Linked DNA regions of Homo sapiens: region 2 is linked to region 1. Evidence: promoter capture Hi-C in 16 types of primary human blood cells and fetal thymus (Javierre and others, 2016). All regions are on one chromosome and are shown on one strand. Each heading gives the region's core, a stretch centred on a gene start or on the middle of the fragment in contact. The rest is flanking DNA. Distances are from core to core; before and after follow the strand shown. Region 1 holds the start of PSMF1 (proteasome inhibitor subunit 1). Region 2 overlaps NSFL1C (NSFL1 cofactor).

The links. The method cuts DNA at HindIII sites, captures the fragments that hold promoters and counts their contacts. A CHiCAGO score of 5 or more calls a contact.
Region 2: a fragment that was not itself captured here is called in contact with the fragment with the promoter of PSMF1 in region 1 in 1 of 17 cell types (non-activated CD4 T cells); the score reaches 5.1 in non-activated CD4 T cells.

Annotation. Positions count from the first base shown.
Region 1 is chr20:1,115,559-1,122,592 of GRCh38, forward strand. It overlaps PSMF1 (proteasome inhibitor subunit 1), which reads left to right and starts at 3,044. Exons shown (of 7, transcript NM_006814.5): 1 at 3,044-3,344. The coding sequence starts at 3,216. It overlaps LOC105372493 (a long non-coding RNA gene), which reads right to left and starts at 2,890. Exons shown (of 2, transcript NR_136535.1): 1 at 2,826-2,890; 2 at 2,294-2,430. RefSeq lists enhancers at 2,795-3,437, 2,837-2,886, 2,897-2,946, 2,957-3,146, 3,187-3,316. The HindIII fragment of the contact is 12,206 bases long and covers 1-7,034 here.
Region 2 is chr20:1,445,518-1,452,551 of GRCh38, forward strand. It overlaps NSFL1C (NSFL1 cofactor), which reads right to left. Exons shown (of 9, transcript NM_016143.5): 7 at 6,976-7,034; 8 at 149-313. Among named protein-coding and RNA genes, the nearest start is that of NSFL1C, 18 kb to the right of the region's middle. The HindIII fragment of the contact is 2,629 bases long and covers 2,746-5,374 here.

The sequences.
Region 1 (7,034 bases), core at 1,794-4,293:
AAAGCCCACTGATGCCAAGCACACTGAGGAAAGTGCAATTAATCATGGGCAAAGAGACGAGGGAAACCTCACTCAGGAGGCAACATTGACCTTGTAATCCCACAGAGCTAGCTGCATTCCACCATGCCTTTGCACATACTGTTTCCTTTTACTGGAACACCTTTTGATCCTTAATCCACTTTTTTTTTTTTTTTGAGACAGTCTCTCTTTATCACCCAGGCTAGAGTGCAGTGGCTTGATCTCGGCTCACTGCAACCTCTACCTCCCGGGTTCAAGCGATTCTCCTGCCTCAGCCTCCCGAATAGCTGGGATTACAGGTGCCTGCCACCACGCCCGGCTAATTTTTGTATTTTTAGTAGAGACAGGGTTTCACCATGTTGGCCAGGCTGGTCTTGAACTCCTGACCTCGTGATCCACCTGCCTCAGCCTCCCAAAGTGCTGGGATTACAGGTGTGAGCCACCATGCCTGGCCAGTACTTTTTTTTTTTTTTAAACACTAGACAGTGAGCTCTATAGGGACAGGAACCTGTTCATCTGTGTCTGGCCCACAGTAGGCACTTAGGAATGGGCTGCCACTAAGTAGGCACCTTAAGTGGACACCCTGCACTATGGTTCATGGCAGCCCAGCCTATGAAAGTTTATTGATGGAATGAATCTGTAGAAATTTTCCATAATTGGATAAGGGCATTACAAACAGAAGGGACAGAGCAAGCAAAAGCAGGGAAGACTGAAAGTGCAGAACTTCTCAGTAGAAAGGGCAAATAGCTTTATGCCACAGGCAGTACATCTCAGAGAGGAGTTCCACAGCCACTAGCTTTAGTGTCATCCAGAATGTAGTCAACATACATGCACTCTTCCTCAGACCTTCTCATCCAGAATCTCTGCAGAAGGGGTTCAAGAATCTGGTTGTCTCAAGGAAACTTTAGGAACACAAAATTTGGAGAGGCACAGGGCCAGCTGACAAAGGGAGTGATGGACTATAAAGAGGTAAGAGTGCCCTGACTGGGTTGGGGCTAGGCCAAGAATTCATTCCTTCATTCAGTATTCATTCTGTCTTTCAATAAGTATAGATTGATCCCAGAAGGCACTCAGGTACATATGTGCACAAGGTAGACATGCTCCCTGTTCCTTTGTCACAGTCTAGTGGAAAGACAGTCATTAAATAAGCAAAGAAATAAACACCTAACATAGTTTCAGGTTATGATTAATGCTTTGCAGGAAAAAAAAAAAGCCAGAGAGGGATTAAAGACGGGAGAAGGTTATTTTGGATGGAATGGTCTGGGAAGCCCTCTGTTGAGGATGGTAGGAGTGAGGGATGAAGCCACTTGAAATGAAGAAGCAAGACATGCAGATATCTGGGAAAAGAGCATTCCAGGAAGAGGAACGCAAAGGCCCAAACAGAACACATGAAACAGGGAAACTGGCTGGGAAGCTACTGCAATAGTCTAAGTGTGAGATGCTGGAGGATCAGACCAGAGTGGAAGCAGTGAAGGTGATGGGAAGTGGTCAGATTCATAATATATTTTGAGAGTGGAGTCAACTAGCTTTGCTGTTGGACCAGATGTAGATGTGAGAGAAGAGGGGGAGCCAAGGTTATTGCACGTATAAAGGGGATGAGAGGACAGTTGAAGGAGACTGAATCAGAGAGGTACAGGGCTGGCAGGGCTGGGGCAGGAGATGGCAGACCACATGCAGATTCCTGCAGACCATGGGGAGGACTTTACTTTTCCATTGAGTGTGACGATTTTGAGCCAACGGATGTGATCTGACTTTTCTTTTTTTTTTTTTTTCTTTTTTGAGACAGAAGATCGCTCTGTTGCCCAGGCTGAAGTGCAATGGTGCGATCTTGGCTCACTGCAACCTCCACCTCCACCTCCCGGGTTCGATTGATTCTCATGCCTCAGCCTCCCGAGTACCTGGGACTAAAGGCGTGCGCCACCACACCCAGCTAATTTTTGTATTTTTAGTAGAGACAGGGTTTCACCATGTTGGCCAGGCTGGTCTCAAACTCCTGACCTCAAGTGATCCGCCTGCCTCGGCCTCACAAAGTGCTGGGATTACAGGCATGAGCCGCCACACCTGGCCGATCTGACTTGTTTTCTAACAGAATCTCTCTGGTTGCGGAGTGCAGTACAGACTAGAGAGAGACAGGAATGGAATGGGGCAGTTCTGAGGCTGATGCCAGGCATCCAAGTGAAAGATGACAGGAGCTTGAACCAGGTTAGTGACTGGGATGGGGAAACTAAATTTATTTGGGTAAAAACAATAAGTGGATTTCATGAAACTTGTTGAAGTAACGGGTGGTAAAAATCATAAAGGGGGTAGGCAAATAAATGATTGAAATTTGATAGTGGGTCAGGAGCTTCAGCTCTGCGGGCAGCAGTTGTGTCTCCTTGGAGAAGTGGTTTCAACTCTGAGCCGTTTTGTCATCTGCAAAATGGGGATAATAACGGTCCATACTTCATAGAGTTGTTGAGAGGGTGATGTAAAGGTTTTAGCGCACGATGTAGCACACAATAAACACTTAATAAATGTTATCTTAGAAGCCAGACTGCCAGGTTCCCATAACCATTTCAGCCGTTCACCGGCTGGCTGTTGTCATCTTGGTCAAATTATCCCTCTGCGCCTCAGTTTCCTCATCTGTGCAATGAGGCACATTAATCGTTAATATCAACTGCATAGAGTTGGGTTGTGAAGATTAAATAAATGAATACAAGTAAAGCGTTTAGAATAATGTGGACGGTAGCAAGCACGGCGAACGTGTTAACGATTATTAAGAATGTATTTTAGCCACATTTCCCAGCCCCTTCCCCGGCCTAGCATACCCCATTTTGTGGATGGGAAGTCTGCCTCTCAGCAAGGTGGCCTCTTGGAGGACGCTGTGCCCGCGTCAGGCGATCCTGTCGACTGCCGCCAAGACCCGGCTTCCGGCTTTGAGGGGCCACGCCCCGCTCGCACTCCCTGGCGGAACCTTTCAGTGCTGCGCTCGCGTTGCCAACCCGGCGCGCCTCACGCAGTTGCGCCCGCTGTTGGGACTACTTCCGGCTTCCCCGCCCCGCCCCGTCCCCGGGCGTCTCCATTTTGGTCTCAGGTGTGGACTCGGCAAGAACCAGCGCAAGAGGGAAGCAGAGTTATAGCTACCCCGGCCGCGGAGCCGGCTCACTGCACTACCCCCGCCCCCTTCTTTCCTCCAGACGCCGAAGTCGCGGGCGCTCATGGCGGGCCTGGAGGTACTGTTCGCATCGGCAGCGCCGGCCATCACCTGCAGGCAGGACGCGCTCGTCTGCTTCTTGCATTGGGAAGTGGTGACACACGGTTACTTCGGCTTGGGTGTCGGTGACCAGGTACGCCACGGAGCCGGCCAGGGTGGAGGAGGGAACTGTCTTCTGCCCAAACTCAGAGTACCGGAGGCCTGGTCCAGAGCGCCCGATTTCCCCGCTTCTCCCAGTGCAGGGTCTGGGGCAGATGGCAGCGTTGGTAAAACCTGCGGGTCGGAGGTTGCTCACCTGCCCCATCCCAGCCCAGAGTCCCTCACGGCACAGCTGGCACAACATGATTTGTAAACTCAAGGGCGGACACTCGCTTCAACACAGCCTGGCAGCCTCTCAGGCCAGGACTGTGTGGATCTAGCATTCCATAGAATGGCAAAGAATCTAGACAGGAGTTTAGCTCCCCAGAGCACTTCTCACCCACCTGATCCCGTCTGAACTCCTTACCACCCAGCCTCGGGGTGAGGGGACTGACTCAGTTCCGCCCTCATACCACAGTAGAGCCTCCACCAAACATCTGGATCCAAGCACAGGTACAGGAGTGAGCTTTGACCTACTCAGCCCCAGGCCAGGGCCCTTTTTTCACCCGTTAGCATGGGCCCAGAGAGTTCACACGCCTTTCACCCTTTACTGAAGGGCCCAGCATAGTCCACTCGCTACTGCCATCCCCAACTCAAGCTCTAGGAAGCAATCACCCCCAGAGTCGTACACACATACACCCTGGGTGTGAGGGTCATATAAGATTTTCTCCTCATAGTTGTCCCCATAGGGCCAGCCCCTCTTCTCCCATCCCCAGGCTCCACCTCTTACAGCTAGGGACGTCGTTGTCATCCCCACAGAGTTCTAGGACTGCTGGACCCAACCCACCTCACTAATTCTTTGCTCTGGCATTCTTCTTTCTTTCCTGTCTCTTCCCTGTGACCCTCATCCCCAACATCCACATCATCCTAGACATCTGCTTCCTGGGAGAAGTGGGCCTGCCTCCATGCCTGCCCCTCACTGTCACTGTTCTCTCACTCTCAGAACCAAGACTAGCCATGGGAAACAGACCACCCCACCTATTGCATCTTGCCATGAGATTTCACCCTTCCTCTCCTTTTTGACTGCTTCAGTTCTCAACTCCTCTAATCATTTTTTTTAGCTTCTCAAATAGAGTCTTAATTCTCCCCTCCTGACATAGCTTTAGGGACCTCTCTTCAAACTTGCTTTGTACATTCTGAGCACTTAGACAAGTATCCCCTTTCCCCCACCCCTCACTGCTGTCCCTATTCCTCTCTGTCTCTTAGAACTAAAGACCAAGACCACCATACCCCTCTCACACTTTACCCCCTCCAGCAGGAATCAGAACACAAGAACCGTCAGGGATTTCTGGCTCTTTTTTTCCCCAGACCTCAATTATCTCACTGGGACCCCAGGTACACACTCAGGATCCCCATTCCCACCTCCAAACTCACACATACTTCATCTCTCAAATGGGCTCTAAGACTAGATATGAGGATGGAAAAGAACAGCTAGCCTTTCACACACACATACCTGGAAGCAGGAATCATTTCACCTTCCCAAACACATCTGTCCCTGACCTTTCTCTTTGTGCTGCTCTTCATTCCACATACCTTCCAAATGTCTTCCAGCATTTCAGACCTTGGGACCAGGTAGAGACAGCACCCCCATTTCAGCGTCAGGCCCCTCTTTCAATGCATAGTTCCCCTAACAGAAATCTTGTCTCCCCACTTGTCTTACTCCAGCTTTTTAATCTTAAGCAGCTCTTCACTTGCCCCAGTCATTTTATTTCAACTTTTCCTAGATTCTTCAAAGAAACTGGTATGTGGGATGGTGCAGGGGACAGTGGGGCTGAGAAGAGGAGTAAGATTTGATTTTGACCTGGGATCTCCTCCATTGGCCCTCAGCTCCCCCTGCCCTTTGTCTTGTCCTTCAGATGGAACAGCTCTGCTTTGCACTCTGTCCCTCCTCATGTACCTCACTCCCCTTACCTACTCCTAGCTAGCTACTTAGACTCTGCCACACTGTCAGAACCCCATCCACCTCTGCTGAGGAACTTGTTCTAGAGGGCGTGTCTGATACCCTTCTCTCCTTGCCATTCCACAAATAAATATCAATCACTGTGGATCTGCTCCTACATTTCTTACCCTCACTCATGCTGTCTGAATCACTTTGACAGTTTAGGGACATGAGTTCACATAAGTCGATACCTTCTAGCTGGCATTACCACCTTGCCATACACTCAAGGCTCCAAAATTTTCAGATGAAATGTACAGAAAGAATACAATCTCATTTTAATAGTTTTTTTTTTTTTTAAAAAGGTCCTTGACCAATTCCCCAAGGTCCATCTAATTTTTCTCTGTTCATGGTGCTATTCGTTGAGCTTCTGCAGGCCAGAAAAAGATGCTGGTTTCAGACATCTTTGGGGAGGCCCAGGAGCCTGGGGAATTAGGTTTTTGTAAGGCATTGCCACCTTTCCTCTATCTACCCCAGCACTAAATCTTGCATGCCCCCGAAGGAATGAGTGTTTGGATTGCAAACTAGAGTGTGGTGTATTTTTGCTTCTCTCTGCCTTTTCTCCTTGATTGCCATTGGGGCTCAGGTTGCACTTGTCCTTCTGTCGCTTCTGCTGAGTCTACTTTCATTCAGAGTGGAAACTGGAGAGGCATCTTTCCTATTAGTTTATTTAAGAAGAGGTTTAATTTTTCAGCCTGGGGCCAGCCAACTCAGCTGACTCAATTGTGTTTTCCAAGCTCAGAGGATATTTGTGTTGCCTCTCCAGCCATCTGCTGTTTCCACCCTTCTGGGGGTGATAAGAAGGAGAGGAAGGTCCCAAGAGTGTATGCTTGACTATACAAGTTGACAGTTAAATGGAAAGCTAGATTGTCTGCTTTCTCTTAGGTTTTGCTTCCTCTGTTACAGGGGAATTGTGTACATAAAACTTGATTAGAAAACCAGTGCAGCCACTGGCTTCAACAAAAATCCAATACTTGAATTTGGATTTCTTTCTTGAAGTCAGAACCACTCCTCACAAGAACTTTACAGCTTTGTCAAGTGGTTTGGGTGCCAAGGGGATAGGTAAGGGATGACTTAGGTGGTTATCGACATAAGTTAGAGAATTTTGTTTTCTGTTGTGGGAAATCTAAGGATTATGATGAAAGAGAGAAAATGCCCAAAATGATCTGTTTAAGTTTCTTTGGGTGAATTTTAGTTCAGAGGCATTGGGGCAAATTCATGGCCATTAAAGAATGCTTCCAGTGCCAGGATTTTGCCTAAGAAGACAATTATCTTTATTCTCTTAGGGCCAGTCTTGTGGACCTGGCTGGGAAAAACCTTCTCTAGCCATAGCCTGGGCAATCAGGAGCTCTGAATTCCAAGCACAGCCCTACACCTGACTTGCTGAGACCTTGGGCAGCTCTCTGACCATCTCAGGCCTTAGAGTTTTCTTTTCTTTTTCTTTTTCTTTTCTTTTTTTTTTTTTTTTTTTTAATCCGAGATGTCTCACTCTGTCACTCAGGCTAGAGTGCAGTGGTGCTATCTTGGCTCACTGTAACCTCTGCCTCCTGGGTTCAGGCAATTCTGCCCCAGCATCCTCAGTAGCTGGGATTACAGGTCCCCGCCACCATGCCTGGCTAATTTTTTTTGTATTTTTAGTAGAGACAGGGTTTCACCATGTTTGCCAGGCTGGTCTCGAACTCCTGAATGCAAGTGATCTGCCTGCCTCTGCCTCCCAAAGGGCTGGGATTACAGGCAAGAGCCACCGCG
Region 2 (7,034 bases), core at 2,810-5,309, 330 kb after region 1:
TAGTCCTTACCACCCTCGTGTCTGCTTTGGGGAAAGCATGGAGTGCCTGCTGGTATTTAGGAGGAAGAACGGCTCTCTGCTTCCCACACATTTGCGTGAGGCCCAGAGGACACTCCTAGAATAAGCTAGGCCACACAATGCAAGGTACCTGTGGCTGTGGTTAAATTTCTGCACCAGCCTCCCGCCGTCTGCAAGCCGAATTTGGATGTTTGTGGTAGGCTCTGATTCGTCGATTAAGATGGAAGAGCTGGCTTTGGCTTCATTTTCTGCCTGTTGGGCTGGAGAGCTGGTACTCAACACCTGGGGGGCAGTGCTGAGGAGAGAGGATGGCATCAGAACACAAGCAGAAACAAGGCCCCTAGCAAGAAGGGAATCCCTTCTTGGACTGTTACTGAGCATTTGCAATGCGCCTGGCATTGTTTGGTGCTGCTGATCTATTGACCCAGACAGGGAAAATCGTGCCCTTATGGAACTTACAGGTCCAGCAGAATTCACTTCAAACCCTGAGTCATATATTTCATACGTTATTGCTAGCTCCCTCGCTCCTGAGTAATGTGGGCAAGTTACTCGGCCTTTTTCCTCCTTGGTGTCTTCAACTGAACAAGGGCTTGAAGGGAGGAAAGCAGGACAGCCTAGGGTGGGAGAGACAGGGTCATAAGGCTGGAAGACATAATAGAACAGGGTCAGTTTTAGCCTCAATGGAGTGGTGGAGGGGAGTGTTCCAAGTCTGCAGCTGAGGCAGCCTTGGCACAGCCTGGCAGGTGAGTGGCAGGATGCAGGCAAAGCAATCCAGATTCTTCTTCTGTGATGGAATTTTCAGGCCTGCATTACCTAGTGCACCTCACTCCCATGTGTATCTGTACTCATACATCCACTATTGAGGGCAGGGGAGAGAGTTCTAAAGGGCACTGAAAAGCCAATTAAGTGCTGGGTTCTGCTGGGATTCATCATACAATGAACAGGACACGGTGTCAGACACAGTGTTAGATTTCATATCTCAGAATCACATGGACCAGGGTTTGAATTACTCAAGCACCCTTAGTTTCAACAAAGGTAGTAATTAGATTTTTAAAGGGTTAAGGCATAGGCCTTGCTCAGTTTTTGTTAGGATTAAAGGGGAAAATTGCATAATGCACTCAGGATGGCTGACAAACACAAAATGCACATAGGACTCCCAATTCTCCACAACTGTATGGAGCCGCCTTCTCTCCTCCAAACCACCTGTCCACTTCACTCCCAGTCTTTCTCTTAGCAGATGACCTGACTTAGACCTTTGCAAAGAAGAAAGGCCACTAGATGAGCATTTGCTTCCCCTCAAAGCCTCTAATTAGATCAGTTCTTGTAACTTACTCTTCCCCCTTCACAGCCCCAAAAATGGTACTGAGAGCAAATCCAACTGAAAGTGCTTTCCAAAGTGTGTTCCATAGGAAGGAAGGTGTAGGAAAGGCCACATATTACACTAGCAGCTTCAGAGGCCATTGGCACATTAAAGGTTTTGAGAGATTGCACAGTTAAATATTGCCCTGAAGCATATAATTAAAGAATGACTGAAAAGCAAACTTACTCTTTTCTGTGAATGTGAAAAACATGGACTTACAGAATTACAAAGTAGAGCTCAGAGGAGAATGTCACCCACATTACTAGCACTAGAGAAGCTGCTTCTCTGCATCAGCCTCAAAGCATGTGGGACTCAAAAAGTGTGGGCTGGGACACACAGTTTAAATGACACTACGATAGGCCACAAGAGTTGATTGGAAATAGTGAATAGGTAAATCTCATATACCTGTAAATGCCTAAGCTCTGCACCAAGCTTGTCCAACCACCCATGGCTCATGGGCCGTATGCGACCCAGGACAGTTTTGAATGCAGCCCAACACAAATTTGTAAACTTTCTTAAAATGTTATGAGTTTTTTTTTTTTTTTGCTTTTTGTTGTTGTTAGCTCATCAGCTATCATTAGTATCAGTGTATTTTATGTGTGGCCCAAAGCAATTCTTCCAAAGTGGCCCAGGGAAGCCAAAAGACTGGACATTCCTGATCTACACTATCTCGTTTTGTTCATTAGTTTCACAGACATTAGGTTAACTCTCCAATTAGACTTTAGGCAGCCTGTCCCTCAACTATTTATAATAATTCAAAGTATACGTACTCATTGAAACCACCGCCTGCCAGAAAGGGAACTATAACGTTTTCAGGCAGGCCTAAGATGAGAAAGAAGCTGTTAAGCCAAAATAGCTGATATCAGTTAAGGGGGTGGGGAGCAGAAAAAACAGGAGTGACATTTACACCGACTCTGTGCAGGTATTGTCTAAAGGGGCTTTCACAGCCACGACCTCGCTGAATCACCACAACCATCCTCTGAGAGGGGTGTATCTCCATTTTATAGATGAGAAAACACACACACACGCTATGGATCATTTTTAAAAACTAATGCAATGAACAAGCCTCCTTTCAGTATATATTCTGTGTATTCCCACCAGCCAGGATTTTGTCAAGCTTTACAATTACGATGGTTTTAGAAAAATAATATTTATATTGGAAATGCTTTCTCAAACTTCTCCTTGAGTTTCACTCCTCACTTATGAGCTGATGACCCTCAGCAAGTTACTGAGCATCTTGGCACCTCAATTTCCTTTTCTATAAAGTGGAGATACTCTCCTTACCACAGCTCCACGCCTTTTGGGGAAGCAGTCCCTACTGTCCCTATTATCAAGGAGAGTTGGTGTGATGCCAGAGAAATGGCACAAGCTTTGGAGCTGAGCCACCACCATTTGGCCTCTGCTCTGCCTCTAAACAGACAGTGTGGCCTTAAGCAAGTCACAACTTCCCAGGGCTTCAGTGTCTTTGTGTGTAAAATGAGGAGCTGTTCTGTTGTGAGGATGAGACGAGATAATGTGCACGCAAGGCCTGGTATTTAGGAAATCCTCCACACAAGGAAGCAGCTGCTGTTTGGGTTTGCTTCCCAGCACGTCCCATTGCAGACTGCTGGTGGGTCATCACTGGAAGAGATGAGGAAAGCCTGATGCCTGGACTTGGCTGTGTAGCTTCTGACTGGCTGTTTCTCTTACACACTCCCTAAAAATTAGGTGAGGCAGGGTGGCCTGATAAACATGGTGACTATTTATGAGGCACCCATTCCTAAGCCAGGCCCTGTGCTGAGTACTTCACATGTATTAACTTACTTAACCCACAGGCTTAACCCCCAGCCTATGAGGTAGGGATTCATTACAGATGAAGAAACTGAGGCACAGCAGGGTGAAGCAACTTGCCCAAAATCCCAGTGTTGGTTCACGGTAGAGGCAGTATACAATCCGAGCTATTTGGCTCTCCATCCTGTGCTCTTCACACTGTCCCACTCTCCTGTTGGGCCTTACACTCAGACAGGTATAGGCCTGGATTTCAAGACCCAGTTTCCTCATCAATAAAACAGAGTTAAAACTTCCCAGATACTTGAGAAAATAGCTAAAAACATGCACTGTACCCAACACATACTAAAAGTACAAACAAATGTCTATGTGGCTATGCAAGAATATCCAGGATGCTATGCAGGTTGGCAGGTAAAGGCAGAGACTGGAGGGACCCAGCTCTGCACTGGCCAGCAATATGGATCTCACCAAGTCTCAGGATCCTTCTTTGTAGAATGGGGATTAAAACAGGATTAAAGAAGATAAAATAAATGAAATACTTAGCATAGCGCTTAGCTAACAACATAAAACACTCGACTAACTAATTATATCATTCTTCAAGGTCCTGCCCCACTTATATTTGCCTCAATTCTGGACCAAAATCGACTAGAAATGCTATCAGCTGCCATGGGCTGTAAGTGGAAGGTCACCTGACAGGCATTCCCAGTCTATACTGCTCTCAAGGAGGATGGGGAGTGGAAGAGGAGGGGAAACCTGAAGACCAGGCCTCCTGATTTTTCAAATAATAAGAGCACATCATTCAAAGAATATTAGTTCCATAGTGCTCTAATCATCCCGCAGGGCAGCCACACGCATCTGTTCAAAGGAGCTGGCCTGCCAGCTCTTCCTGAGAACTGCCAACAGCTGGGCTACTGCTCCCAGTGAGCGGCTGGCCATCTGCAGCTGTGAGGGTGCTTGATTCACAGGCAGGAAAGGTTAGAGCAGACGTCTATAAATAGTGTTTTTTGGTGTCTCCCTGCAAACATCGTAAGTTATGGGGAAAATGAGTCTCAATTCAAGAGCCCGAATCACCCAACTCCTCCTATCTTTACAGGGGGAATAAACTGGCACTAGGTACTTTCTTGCCACAGTTACAAATCCTGAGACCAGCCATCTTCTCCACAAAAATAACCACTACAGAAGGCACGGGAGCAGCTAAAGCTCACTTCCAGCAGCAGTGACCCCTCCTCCCAAGTGCACTCTTGCTGTTTGCAATTCGAACCTTCAGATCAGCTCCCAACTCAAACAAACTAACGTAAAACCTAAAACAACAACAAAATTCTCCGGTTTCTCTTCAGATTGTATACATCTTTTGCCTTTTACTAAAACAACAAAAAAAATTTAATACAACTGAATTTTCTCAAAATATTTTAACTGAGACAACTTATTCATTCACTTGAAGTATTTTCCCAGATAATTAAGATTTTGAAAAAGCCCAGTACTGACTGATTTTTGAAGCAAATCTGAGAAAATTTTCAGGAAAAATTTCAAGAAAAGTTCAAGACTTTTGGCTTCTGATCATTTTGGTTCACAAGACAATGAAAAACATAGTAAAATTTATGAGAAAAACTAAAGCAGCTGTCCTGATTTAGACTGAAAAGCTAAAGTCCCATCTCACTTAACTTTATAAAACTGTGGCTGTTTTTTTTTTAAGCTAAGTTTTCATAAAAAGCCAGAACTGAAATAAAATGCAAGTGGAACTGGCAGTGAACACTTTGTTGATAAACATCATGGTGATATCAAGTTCTATCTTGTGCTCATTCTCCACATTAATATTTATTCCTATCATGCTAAAATAGACTTTAAAGATATTTTAATTTTCTGAGATGCAGAGTTTCACACACATAATATGGTTAGACTTTCCAATAGAAACATTTCCTGTTAGTATTATAAAATCATACCCAAAGTGCATGGTGTTCTGAAGTTCTGAGCCCTCCCTTGTAACTGGTGGTGGGCATAAAAAATATAGCCTTTTTGAAGGGCAATTTGACATCTTAAAAGTATGAAGCCCTTTTGAAACAATAATCATATGTCTAGCCCAAGTGTACAAAGATTTAATCACAGAGATATTCACTGCAATGTTGTAATTCTGGTAGCTGCCTAAATGTTTAACAGCAAGGACTGGTTAAATTATGGCACATTTATGGGCTAGAAAATTATGTAAGCATTATAATTAAAAGTGTAGAAATAAGCTTACTGATAAAGGATGATAGCCATACTTCACTGATAAAGTAAAAAGCAGGTGATACAACAGCATGTTTACAAATACATGCAAATGAGTAAGAGAAGAAAGATACACTTGCCAGATATTTCTGGGTGTTAGCTTCAGGACAGCTTTTATTCTTTACCTGCACTTTCTATTAAGATGAACATGTATTATTTTAATAATCAAAGAAAAAAAAAATTAGGTGCCCTATAAAGCTCATCACAACTGACAGGGACACTCTCTGTGAGAATAGCTGTCCTGGGCTAGTCCACAGCCCTTGATGCAGTAGATGAAATGATGAGAACAGGGATGACTTAACTACTTTGGGCCAGGTAAATCTAATACCCTGAACTCTGACCCTTGCTCCTGATGAGGCATGAATGGTCAACAGGCAGGTAAGGGATTCCAGGAGAGGGCCAGCCAGAAGCTCAGAGGGCATGGTTGTTGGAAGACCAAGCTTTGATCTCTGAAGATAGTGAGGTGAGCAAGGGCAGTAGCTACTTTGAGAACTGCCAGATCTAGGTTAGAAAGGATGTCTCATTGTGCAGGAGTGCAGGAAGGAATGCCAGTCAGAAGGCCTGGGGTCTTGGCTCTAACACACACCAGCCATGTGCCCAAGGAAAGGCCCCTAATATCCAAGAGCCTCAGCTTTCTCTCTACAAAATAAGGATCATATTGGCAAGGAGGGTCACTATGCTCTAAATGCCTATCATGTGCACAGTTCCCTCTGAAGAACACTCATCAGGTGACCCCATGGCCATGGCCAAAGCTAAGTGGATCCTGAGAGAAGGCAGCCTACCTATGGGCTGGCCAAGAGTCTGGTGGGAGAACCGTATGAGGGATACCAGTGACTATTAACCAATCAGATATCATCAGAGGCTTTGAATGGAAGATAGAGAATGTCTGTTAGTAGAGGGTACAGGAGTGAGAAGGCAGTAGCAGAGGACACAATGCAGAAAAAGTCACAAGTGGCAGAGTGAGTGTCAGGAAGGGCCAAATAAGTAGAAATAAGAGCTGCTGAGCTGTCATAATGGTGGCACACCAGCCTGCAAAGGGGCAGCAAGGTTCCTGAGTGTCCCTGCATCCTGAGCAACACACTGTGAGGCCTGGCTAGGCAAGAGTCTGTAATTTCTTATTCCCCTTGGAATCCTCATTTCAGCCTTAAGCCATCAAGGAGATGACACCTTCCCTGAACACCCTAGATTACTGAGCCACAGCAGCAATTACGTACACTTTCTGCTTACATTGACTGCTCACTATGGAACAGTGTTCTACATGCATCAGCTCACTTATTCCTTGCAACAATAATCCTAGGAGGTATGGACTCTTATTAGTACCAATTTATAGTTGAGGAAACTGAGGCTATATAGTCCAAGGTCACACTGCTAGAAAGTGAAGCAGAGATATAAACTCAGGTCTGTTAACTCCAGTCCATGTTCTCCACACTCTTCCTCCCATACAAATAAAATTTGAAGTATTTTGTAAACAGTAAAGAGCTAATAACCAAAGTGAGTGATACACAGGGTCTGCTGGGCTTGGCAGGTGTGATTGACAGAGTCTGGCTCTAACCTGTGCTGCCCCTTACCTGCCCAGTTTCTGACCCTCGCCAGTGAAGGCTTTGAAGGCTCCTTTGGGCTTCACAAA